Regions from separate parts of the Homo sapiens genome. Here regions 2 and 3 are each linked to region 1. The links are contacts of gene promoters, found by promoter capture Hi-C in blood cells and fetal thymus (Javierre and others, 2016). All regions are on one chromosome and are shown on one strand. The core of a region is centred on a gene start or on the middle of the fragment in contact, and the rest is flanking DNA. Distances in the headings are between cores, read along the strand shown. Region 1 holds the start of DIMT1 (DIM1 rRNA methyltransferase and ribosome maturation factor). Region 2 holds the start of DHX29 (DExH-box helicase 29). Region 3 holds the start of SLC38A9 (solute carrier family 38 member 9).

Evidence for each region. The method cuts DNA at HindIII sites, captures the fragments that hold promoters and counts their contacts. A CHiCAGO score of 5 or more calls a contact.
Region 2: a contact is called between the fragment with the promoter of DHX29 here and the fragment with the promoter of DIMT1 in region 1, in 2 of 17 cell types (total B cells and monocytes). The highest score is 10.9, in total B cells.
Region 3: a contact is called between a fragment that was not itself captured here and the fragment with the promoter of DIMT1 in region 1, in 2 of 17 cell types (total B cells and naive B cells). The highest score is 11.6, in total B cells.

The regions. Positions count from the first base shown.
Region 1 is chr5:62,402,559-62,405,430 of GRCh38, forward strand. DIMT1 (DIM1 rRNA methyltransferase and ribosome maturation factor) reads right to left here and starts at 1,347. Exons shown (of 12, transcript NM_014473.4): 1 at 1,136-1,347; 2 at 715-788. The coding sequence starts at 1,214. RefSeq lists an enhancer at 1,268-1,557. The HindIII fragment of the contact is 1,140 bases long and covers 547-1,686 here.
Region 2 is chr5:55,306,237-55,309,108 of GRCh38, forward strand. DHX29 (DExH-box helicase 29) reads right to left here and starts at 1,458. Exons shown (of 27, transcript NM_019030.4): 1 at 1,151-1,458. The coding sequence starts at 1,337. It overlaps MTREX (Mtr4 exosome RNA helicase), which reads left to right and starts at 1,753. Exons shown (of 27, transcript NM_015360.5): 1 at 1,753-1,911. The coding sequence starts at 1,778. It overlaps LOC124900979 (a long non-coding RNA gene), which reads right to left. Exons shown (of 2, transcript XR_007058774.1): 2 at 1,913-2,201. RefSeq lists enhancers at 1,127-1,386, 1,527-2,006. The HindIII fragment of the contact is 7,705 bases long and covers 1-2,872 here.
Region 3 is chr5:55,709,892-55,712,763 of GRCh38, forward strand. SLC38A9 (solute carrier family 38 member 9) reads right to left here and starts at 2,433. Exons shown (of 16, transcript NM_173514.4): 1 at 2,326-2,433; 2 at 1,561-1,608. RefSeq lists enhancers at 1,881-1,960, 2,531-2,580, 2,671-2,860, 2,696-2,872. The HindIII fragment of the contact is 3,721 bases long and covers 1-2,872 here.

The sequences.
Region 1 (2,872 bases), core at 97-2,596:
CTGCACACAGCTCTAATATTCTACGGCCATAGCTTTCATCAGATGCTCAAAGGAAACTATGAGCTAAAAAGGTTAAAATAGTACATGACCCTTCTTTCTTTTTTTCTCAGTTTTCAAATGACACGAAGCCTGACAAGATCCTTTAACTATGTAATGCTCTTTCTACAGCTCCAGGATGCTTTCCTTGCTTTTAACCATAAGTGTAATCTGCACCGTGTGTATTTCACTTCCTAACACCCAATCATCCATAACCATAAGAGAACATCAATAACTCAGAAAGCAGTAATACTCCAAGCAATTTATATGTGGTACTAGCATACACCAAATAATTTATATGTAGTACTATATGTTTTTCTGGGGAACAAACTTTCTAATGTGTAGTTTAGACATAAATAGATGGAGTACATAAAAACTAAGTGATCAAAAAGGTGATTAGAAATAGAAGAATAATTATCTTGAACAAATACAAAGGTCCAGCTATAAAGTAGATAATCCACAAAAAGACACAGAATTGGGAACCAGGAGAAACTCAGACCCACAAAATGAAGCTTATCATGCAGAAGACAGCCCAAGAATCCTAGACAATTATTTGATTCATTCAACAAATATTTACAGAGCATCTAATTTACGGCAGGCAGACTTTCTGCGCTTATGTATTCATAGGAATAAAATTAATAAACCAACAACTCTCTCCCTTTCCTCTTCCACACCCACCTTATCGATAATGCTGTTAATAATGAGAGGATTTTTCAAAATGTGCTGCCCAATCCCCGTGTTGAACATGAGTCCTGTAAGAAAATACGAAACAGCATTAATTTTCCTACTGAGATTAGATATTAGGCAGTACCAGAGAAGAAAGCTGCATGGGTATGGGGAAGATTTCTGCGCCAACCAGGGCCACGAAACGTCACGCCAGGACTGACAAACTCTTTATAAGTTCATCCTCCAGCTGGAAAGGAAGTCAGCGGCGACGCGCAGGGCCTGCGGCCGAGTCGGGGACCCACCCCTGCCTTCCGCGCTCACGGGAGCGCGTCCTGACCGGCCTCTGCCGATCAGGTCTTGGTCCGCACCCCAGGCTAGGTCCTGCCGGAAGACCTGACCCGACCGACCCCAGCTTCCTCGCGGGGATCCGCACCTCCAGCGCTCTTCAGCTCCCGGCGCTGCTCCTGCCGCCCGCGGCGGCGGCCGATGGCCCCCGACTTGACCTTCGGCATCTCGGCAGAAAGCGGGCCCACAGGCCCGGGACGTCAAGGAGGACCAAAGAGGGCTAGCGTGAGAAAGCCACCACGTGGGGATCGCCGCCACGCGCCGCCCGCACCACTCTGGCCCAAGCGCCGGAGGGGCAAGGGTCCGCCCCCTCCCGTACGCTCTGAGCTCCTCCTCCAGAAAAAGGGCGGACCTTGGAGCCCACTGACTGCCGGGAATTGGAGTCACAGAGGGAGGAAGGCCGAACCGCGGGAGCCTACAGATCCCAGAAGACACCGCGCTACCGAGGACTGCAGTCTGGAGTTGGAGCCCTTGTCCCAACCAGGGCTGGATAAGAAGGTGTTGGTGTGGTGCTCTCGGTGTTGCGAAGGCTGTTTAAGTTATATGATGAGGTTAAGCCTATGGATGTTTTAGTAGCCTAGGTTCTGGGATCGCTGAGGTCCAAAGAAGTATTCACGTGCCTCGCTCCTGTTTTCCTGAAGCTTGTGGGGGTGGGAAACCCGGGATTTGGGGATGAGCTTGCTCTTTTGTGGGAATGCATTTTTTGCTGCTTGCCCTGGGGAAAAGAACTGCGAGAATGGAATTAACGTCTGGTTTCGCTAGGGCTACTGGTTGCTTCTACTAAGAATAGAAGAGCCGGGCGCGGAGGCTCACGCCTGTAATCCCAGCACTCTGGGAGGCAGAGGCGGGCGGATCACAAGGTCAGGAGATCGAGACCATCCTGGCTAACACGGGGAAACCCCGTCTCTACTAAAAATACAAAAAATTAGCCGGGCGTGGTGGTGGGCGCCTGTAGTCTCAGCTACTTGGGAGACTGAGGCAGGAGAGTGGCGTGAACCCAGGAGGCGGAGGTTGCAGTGAGCCGAGATCGCGCTACTGCACTCCAGCCTGGGCGGCAGAGCGAGACTCCGTCTCAAAAAAAAAAAAAAAAAAAAAGGAATAGAAGAATAATTATCTTAAACAGATACAAAGCTCCAGCTACAAAGTAGATAATCCACAAAAAGACAGAATTGAGAACCAGGAGAAACTCAGACCCACAGAATGAAGCTTATCGTGCAGAAGACAGCCCGTGAATCCTAGAAAATTATTTGATTCATTTAACAAATAATTCAACAAATTCCTTTTGTGCCTCATCATTCACTCCGTAAACATTTATTGAGCTCCAACTGTGTATCAAACACTGCTAGGGATTCTAAGTAAGAAACTTATTTCAAAGTGTATTATATTGACAGAGATGGACAGAAACTCCAAAACGCTGTAAATACGATAACGTATTGGTCGTTGTGACAGGACAGTGTACCTGACTATAAACTCCGTGTGTACCAGGGCCATAATATCCACATCTGTTTTGCCAGCCAGTGTAATGGCTCTTTTAAATTTTTCTGTGTGTATTCTGTTTGGTTGAAGAAATAGCTTCTTCCTGTCATTACTAAAGCTAACTCTCTTTTGAGCAATTCATTGTGTACATTCCCAAACCTTGGTCTTAGGCCCTTCTTTCTTTGATGTAGTTCTAAGTCAGAAAAAAAATCTCGTATACCCTAGTAGCATCTTCAAGTATATGTTTCATTTCATCAATCATTGTTATTCCACAATTCTAAAGAGTACACTGTGCTAGGCACTTCCAAATGTTAATAGGATGGACATGGCCTGGAGAGGTGGCTCATGC
Region 2 (2,872 bases), core at 208-2,707, 7.1 Mb before region 1:
TTTCATCCTTTGGCGATGCTTTATGTTCTGTGAATTCCTCAAGAGCCCCAAGCTCTTTCCTGACTCAAACTTTTTACACATGATGTTCATTACGCCCGCCTGGAATACTAATTTCTGCCATGCTTCACAGAGTTAACTCCTTTTTCATTCTCCTCATCTCAGCTTAACTGTTACATTTCCAGACACCATCCATGATACCTGCTCATCCCGAGAAAAATTAGATTACCCTGTTAAACTGTCTTCCCTGGCTTTTCTTTGTGGCACTTATCTATTATAAGGCTATAAATATGTCTGTGTGCGTTACCTATTAGTTAATACCTATCTCTGACATTAGACTGGCAAGCTCCATGAGGTGATGTCTCTTTTTGCTCATCACATTCCTCACATCTTATCAGACACATACTAAATATTTGCATATATACACATAAATGCTCAGCAAATATTTCTTGAATACTCCAATAAGTACAAGCAAACAACCCGAGAAGAACACAACAGAATGTAATTGTTCATCTTTTGAGCTCAACCGTAATATGTGGCCTGCTCATCTGCAGCAGGAATCGGCCATCTATAAGTTGAGTTGTCAAATCAATTTGTACAGTAAGCAAAACTGCATGGCGGCAGAAACGAGGGCAGACAATTTTACAATAGATTACACGTAACCAGTGTGTAACCAGTGTGTAAGTCCTGTAATTTTTATTAAGTATTGATTTTTCCAGAACGCATGGAGACACTAGATTGTTGCTGAAAATGATATGAAAAACTGACAGAAAATGGGGCTGGCTGGCACCAGGAGGTCAGGAACTCCACTCAGTACTCGTCTTTGCGTTAGCCTAGCTAGCTGAGATGGTGCTCAGGATGAATTCCTGCTGAAACAGGAGCTAATGCAATTATTTTGTTTTTAGAAGGGGGAGAAGTGTGAGTTAAAAGAGAAATGCCAGGCTGCAACAGGGCTACTGTCAGAATTTTGGAGGCCCAAAGAGCTTAGACTTTTTTAATCTAAAACAAGGCCACCCCATGGGGAGGTAGCAGCTCGAGTGTTGGGAAATAGAAATGTTGGGCCCGAAGCTCCTCCCGGGTTCTAAGGCCCTTTCCTCAGGACAAGCAGCAAGGTCTCAGGGCAGACAGCCAGGGGCTGGGGGACCTCTCGTACCTTGCTTGACACGGGGCTCCCTGGAGCCGGCAGCGGCAGCGGCAGCGGTGGCCGGCCTGGACACTGGCTTCTTGCTTTGGGCCTCCCCGGCAATTCCAGCCTCGGCAGATTTGGCTCTGGAAGCAGACACGGCGGCCCGGACCACCGCGGCCGCTGGAGCCTTGTGTTTCTTGTTCTTGCCGCCCATGTTGCAGCTGTGGCAGAAGATCCTTCGCGGCCCAGGCCCCGACGGTACCACTGCACAGCCGAGAGCTCTTCACATTCCCCGGCTCCGGGGCTGCCACCCTGCGCTTCGATCCGGGCTTCTCGGGCCGGGGCGACCGCTGCCTCGCAATTGGTCGAATTCAGCAGGCTCCGCCTCCTTGAGTCGCCAGCTGCCTGCCACACGCCAGGCGCCACGCGCCGCCCTCGCTCTTTATCCACTGAGCAGCTTATCCACTTTAGGTCGGAAAGGAAAGGAAAGAAAAGCAGGAAAAAAAAAAAAAGTCAGGGGAACATTTTTGTCGGCTGCGCGACTCGACTACTTTTGTCTCCTGCGGGCCACTGTTGAGCCTTCACGAGACGTCACTGTCTTCGGTCGCGGGGCATCGTGGGTAGGAGGGAGATTTGCTCTCACTGCTCCCAAAAATGGCGGACGCATTCGGAGATGAGCTGTTCAGCGTGTTCGAGGGCGACTCGACCACTGCGGCGGGAACCAAAAAAGACAAGGAAAAGGACAAGGGGAAATGGAAGGGGCCTCCAGGGTCTGCAGACAAGGCAGGGTAAGGAAGAAGTTCCAGTTGTTGCTTTTATTTTTTTTCTCGGTGGGGAGGAAGAAAACACTACTCTCTTAGGAAGAGCACGAGAAAGTGAAGTGTACATTGAGTGGCGTTGGAAGTGAAGGGGTTCCAGAAAAAAGTTGGAGAGGGTGGAAGAATGTTGGTTCGTGGAAGGGGGGTCTTGGCGTTTCCTGGTGTCTGCAGGCAGCGTGATCTTCTGCTTCAATTCCCTTACGTCGATGTTACTGATTCTGTCCCCATCTTCGCGGTTGTCTCCTGCATCAGCACAACACCTGGCACATAGTCGTTAATAAACAAAACGAATGATTAGTTGAGTAAAAGGTGAAAAGGTTTAGAAAAAATGATATGAATTGATTTGGAGGGGAAAGGGCAGATAATAACATGAGAAGGGAGAGACATTTAATCTCCAAGATGTAGTAGTTTTCTCTTCCGTAAAATGGAGATAATAGTGCCTACCACTGGTGGATATGAGGATTCAATGAGATACACGTGTAAAGTGCCTAACAGTGGTTAGCTAGCTATCACTAATAAATGGTAGCTATCGTGAGTTTATTGAGAAAAAATTTAAAAATTACTGGACCCTACCCATATGTTTAGACTGGTGCATACAGCCACCAGAAAGTGTACAGATCTGTTTATAGTAGAACAAGGAAAAGCTATTACTTGTATTAAATAAAGTAAGATGATTAATTAACAATCAACAAAATATACTCTTGGCATTGTGGGGCCAGATACCCAATAGATGCTTGAAATTAAATTAGACATGATTTTGCTCTCAAGGAATTTTCGGTGTAGGGAAAGAGAACAGGTACCCATTAAAGAGTTACAGTATAGGTGAGGAGGTCGTTAACTTAAAATGAATGATATATACAATTAAGTGTTATAAAAGTTCAAGAAAGGGAGATCCTATTTCTGACTTTCAGGAAGGCTTATTTATATACAA
Region 3 (2,872 bases), core at 271-2,770, 6.7 Mb before region 1:
CCATCTCTACCAAAACACACACAAAAAATTAGCCGGGTATGGTGGCGTGTGCCTGTAGTCCCAGCTACTTGGGAGGCTAAGGCAGGGGAATCGCTTGAACCCGGGAGGCAGGGGTTGCAGTGAGCTGAGATTGCGCCACTGCACTCCAGCCTGGCAACAGAGCAAGACTCCATCTCAAAAAAAAAAAAAAAAAAGAAAAAAAAAAGAAAAAGAAAAGAAAAGGAATCTAAGTCTAACTGTTCTCAGAAGTCTAGGGGAAGGAAAGGTAAATTTTATTTTCTTAGAAACAAAGCAACTATATAGGTGACAACTTTTTTTTTTTTTTTTTTAAGACAGGATCTCCCTCTGTGGCTCAGGCTGGAGTGCAGTGGTGCAGTCTTGGCTCACTGCAACCTCCGCCTGCCGGGCTCAAGCAATTCTCCTGCCTCAGCATCCCAAGTAGCTGGGATTACAGATGAGACGCATACCACCACACCTGGCTGATTTTTGTATTTTTAGTAGAGACAGGGTTTCACCATGTTCGCCAGGCTGGTCTTGAACTCCTAACCTCAAATGATCCGCCCACCTCAGCCTCCCAAAAGTGTTGGGATTACAGGCGTTAGCCACCGCAATCCGCCGAACCTTCTATCTTAACACGAAGTTTGTAGTTGTTTATGAGGCAGAGAGATTTTTCTCAAGTTAGGACATGGGTAATTTTGACCTATTGAAACTTTTTTTGTTTAGTTTTTGTTTTTGTTTTTTTTGAGACGGAGCCTCACTCTGTCACCAGGCTGGAGTGCGGTGGCACGATCTCAGCTCACTGCAACCTCCGCCTCCTGGGTTCAAGCGATTCTCCTGCCTCAGCCTCCTGAGTAGCTGGGACTGCAGGCATGTGCCACCACACCTGGCTAATTTTGGTATTTTTTTTTAGTAGAGACGGGGTTTCACCATATTGGCCAGGATAGTCTTGATCTCTTGACCTCGTGATCTGCCTGCCTCAGCCTCCCAAAGTGCTGGGATTACAGGCGTGAGCCACGGCACCTGGCCAAAACGTTTTTAAAAAATCTTTCTCCTCAGCAGCTGCCTATCCTACATATGTCAGATCTTTGTCATGTCTGAAGGTATTAAAAAGAAAAAAGAGGCTGGGCGCAGTGGCCCACGCCTGTAATCCCAGCACTTTGGGAGGCCAAGGCAGGCGGATCACTTGAGATCAGGAGTTCAAGACCAGCCTGGCCAACATGGTGAAACCCCGTTTCTACTAAAAATACAAAAATTAGCGGGGCGTGGTGGCGGGCAGCTGTAATCCTAGCTACTCAGGAGGGTGAGGCACGAGAATCGCTTGAACCAGGGAGGCGGAGGTTGCAGTGAGCCGAGATCACTCCACTGCACTCCAGCCTGGGCGACAGAGCGAGACTCTTGTCTGAAAAAAAAAAAGAAAGAAAAGAAAAGAAAAAAGAAAACAAGGTGGAGGTACAACTTACAACTTATAGTGTGCTCATCTACAGAGCACGGCAATGGATAAGACACTGCCTGGGAGTCATGACAATTAGGTGTTGGTCGAGTTTGCCATTAAATGGTTACCTGGTGTTGAGTAGGTTTCTCCAACTCGGTGGACCTCAGTTTCCTTCTCTGTAAAATGAGGAGAATGCGCTTGACTAGCTGCTCTCAAACCCCTCTTCCAGCTTTACTATGCTGAGATGTCAAGCTACCCACTATCAACACACTCACTCTCACAACTGAGTCGTGTGAAAAGCGTGGCGAGGGCTTACCAGTCATGGCCCTCACCCCCTCTGTGGTCCTAGCTCAAGGCCCAAAGGGGGTTCCTCCCTCATGTTCCCCCTCTAGATGTCCCCAACTCGGGATGGAGAAAGGTGCTCCCAGCCGTGATCGCGCCACCTCACTCAAGCCCAAGCGACGGAGCAAGACCCTATCTCAAGAGAGAGAAAGAAGGGTGCTCCCATTCCTGCAAGTCCCACAATTCTCCTACTCCCTCCTTCTCTCACCCGAGGGTCAGGGTGTTCATTTACCCCAACCCTATCTTTTCTCTAAGGCTCCAGCTGACACCGACTCCCATAGACACTCGGATTTCCTCAGACCCCGAGGGACTCCTGACTTTCTTTCCCTGAGCCCTTGAGGAGCGCGCGCCGTGCCTCCGGAGCAGTCTCCGCGGCTCCAGGCTATGGCCTCCCTGAGCCCCAAAAGAAGAGACGGTTCCGATGCGCTGCAAAGAACTATCCCAGGTGACAGCCGGCTTCGCCCCAACTTCAACCCTTCCCGCCGCCTTCCCTCGGATACCTTCCCACCTCCCCGAGGGGCGAGTTTGCTAGACGTGGGAACGTGATCTACCTGAGCAGGCCGAGCCTTCAACCTCGGAGAACTAGACGAGAAGATAAAGATTCCCTTCCCAAATTCTCGCAATTTGCGACCGCGGGGCTCCTAGTCCAAACAGGAAGCGGCAATAGCCTGGGTCGCAGGGGCCGGCGGGAGTTGGAGTTCTGAATGCGCCAAGCCCGCGGTCGCTGTCAAACCTCTCGCCGCTACGGACTACAACTCCCAGAGGGCTCTGCGACGGCCAGCACGCCCATCACCGCAGGGCCCAGCCCCGAGGCTTCAGGAGGCTGGGCAGCCGGCGCGCCCAGGTGGGCGAGTCCAGTCGGAACTGCAGCCCCGAGTTTGCTCCAGTTCCTTGTCCCGGCTGGAGGCTGGGAGGGGTAGTAGAAGGAATGCAATCTCTTGCCATTCATAGAGCCCCGGAGGCCACGTGAGAAAACGCTGATGCGGCACCTCCATCGAGGGATCACCCCTCTTTTGGGCTTTCCTGGCGCGTGTTGTATGATCTGGTTACGTCCTTGGACCCTACAGACACAAAGGGAAGCTGGTTTGAAAAAACTGT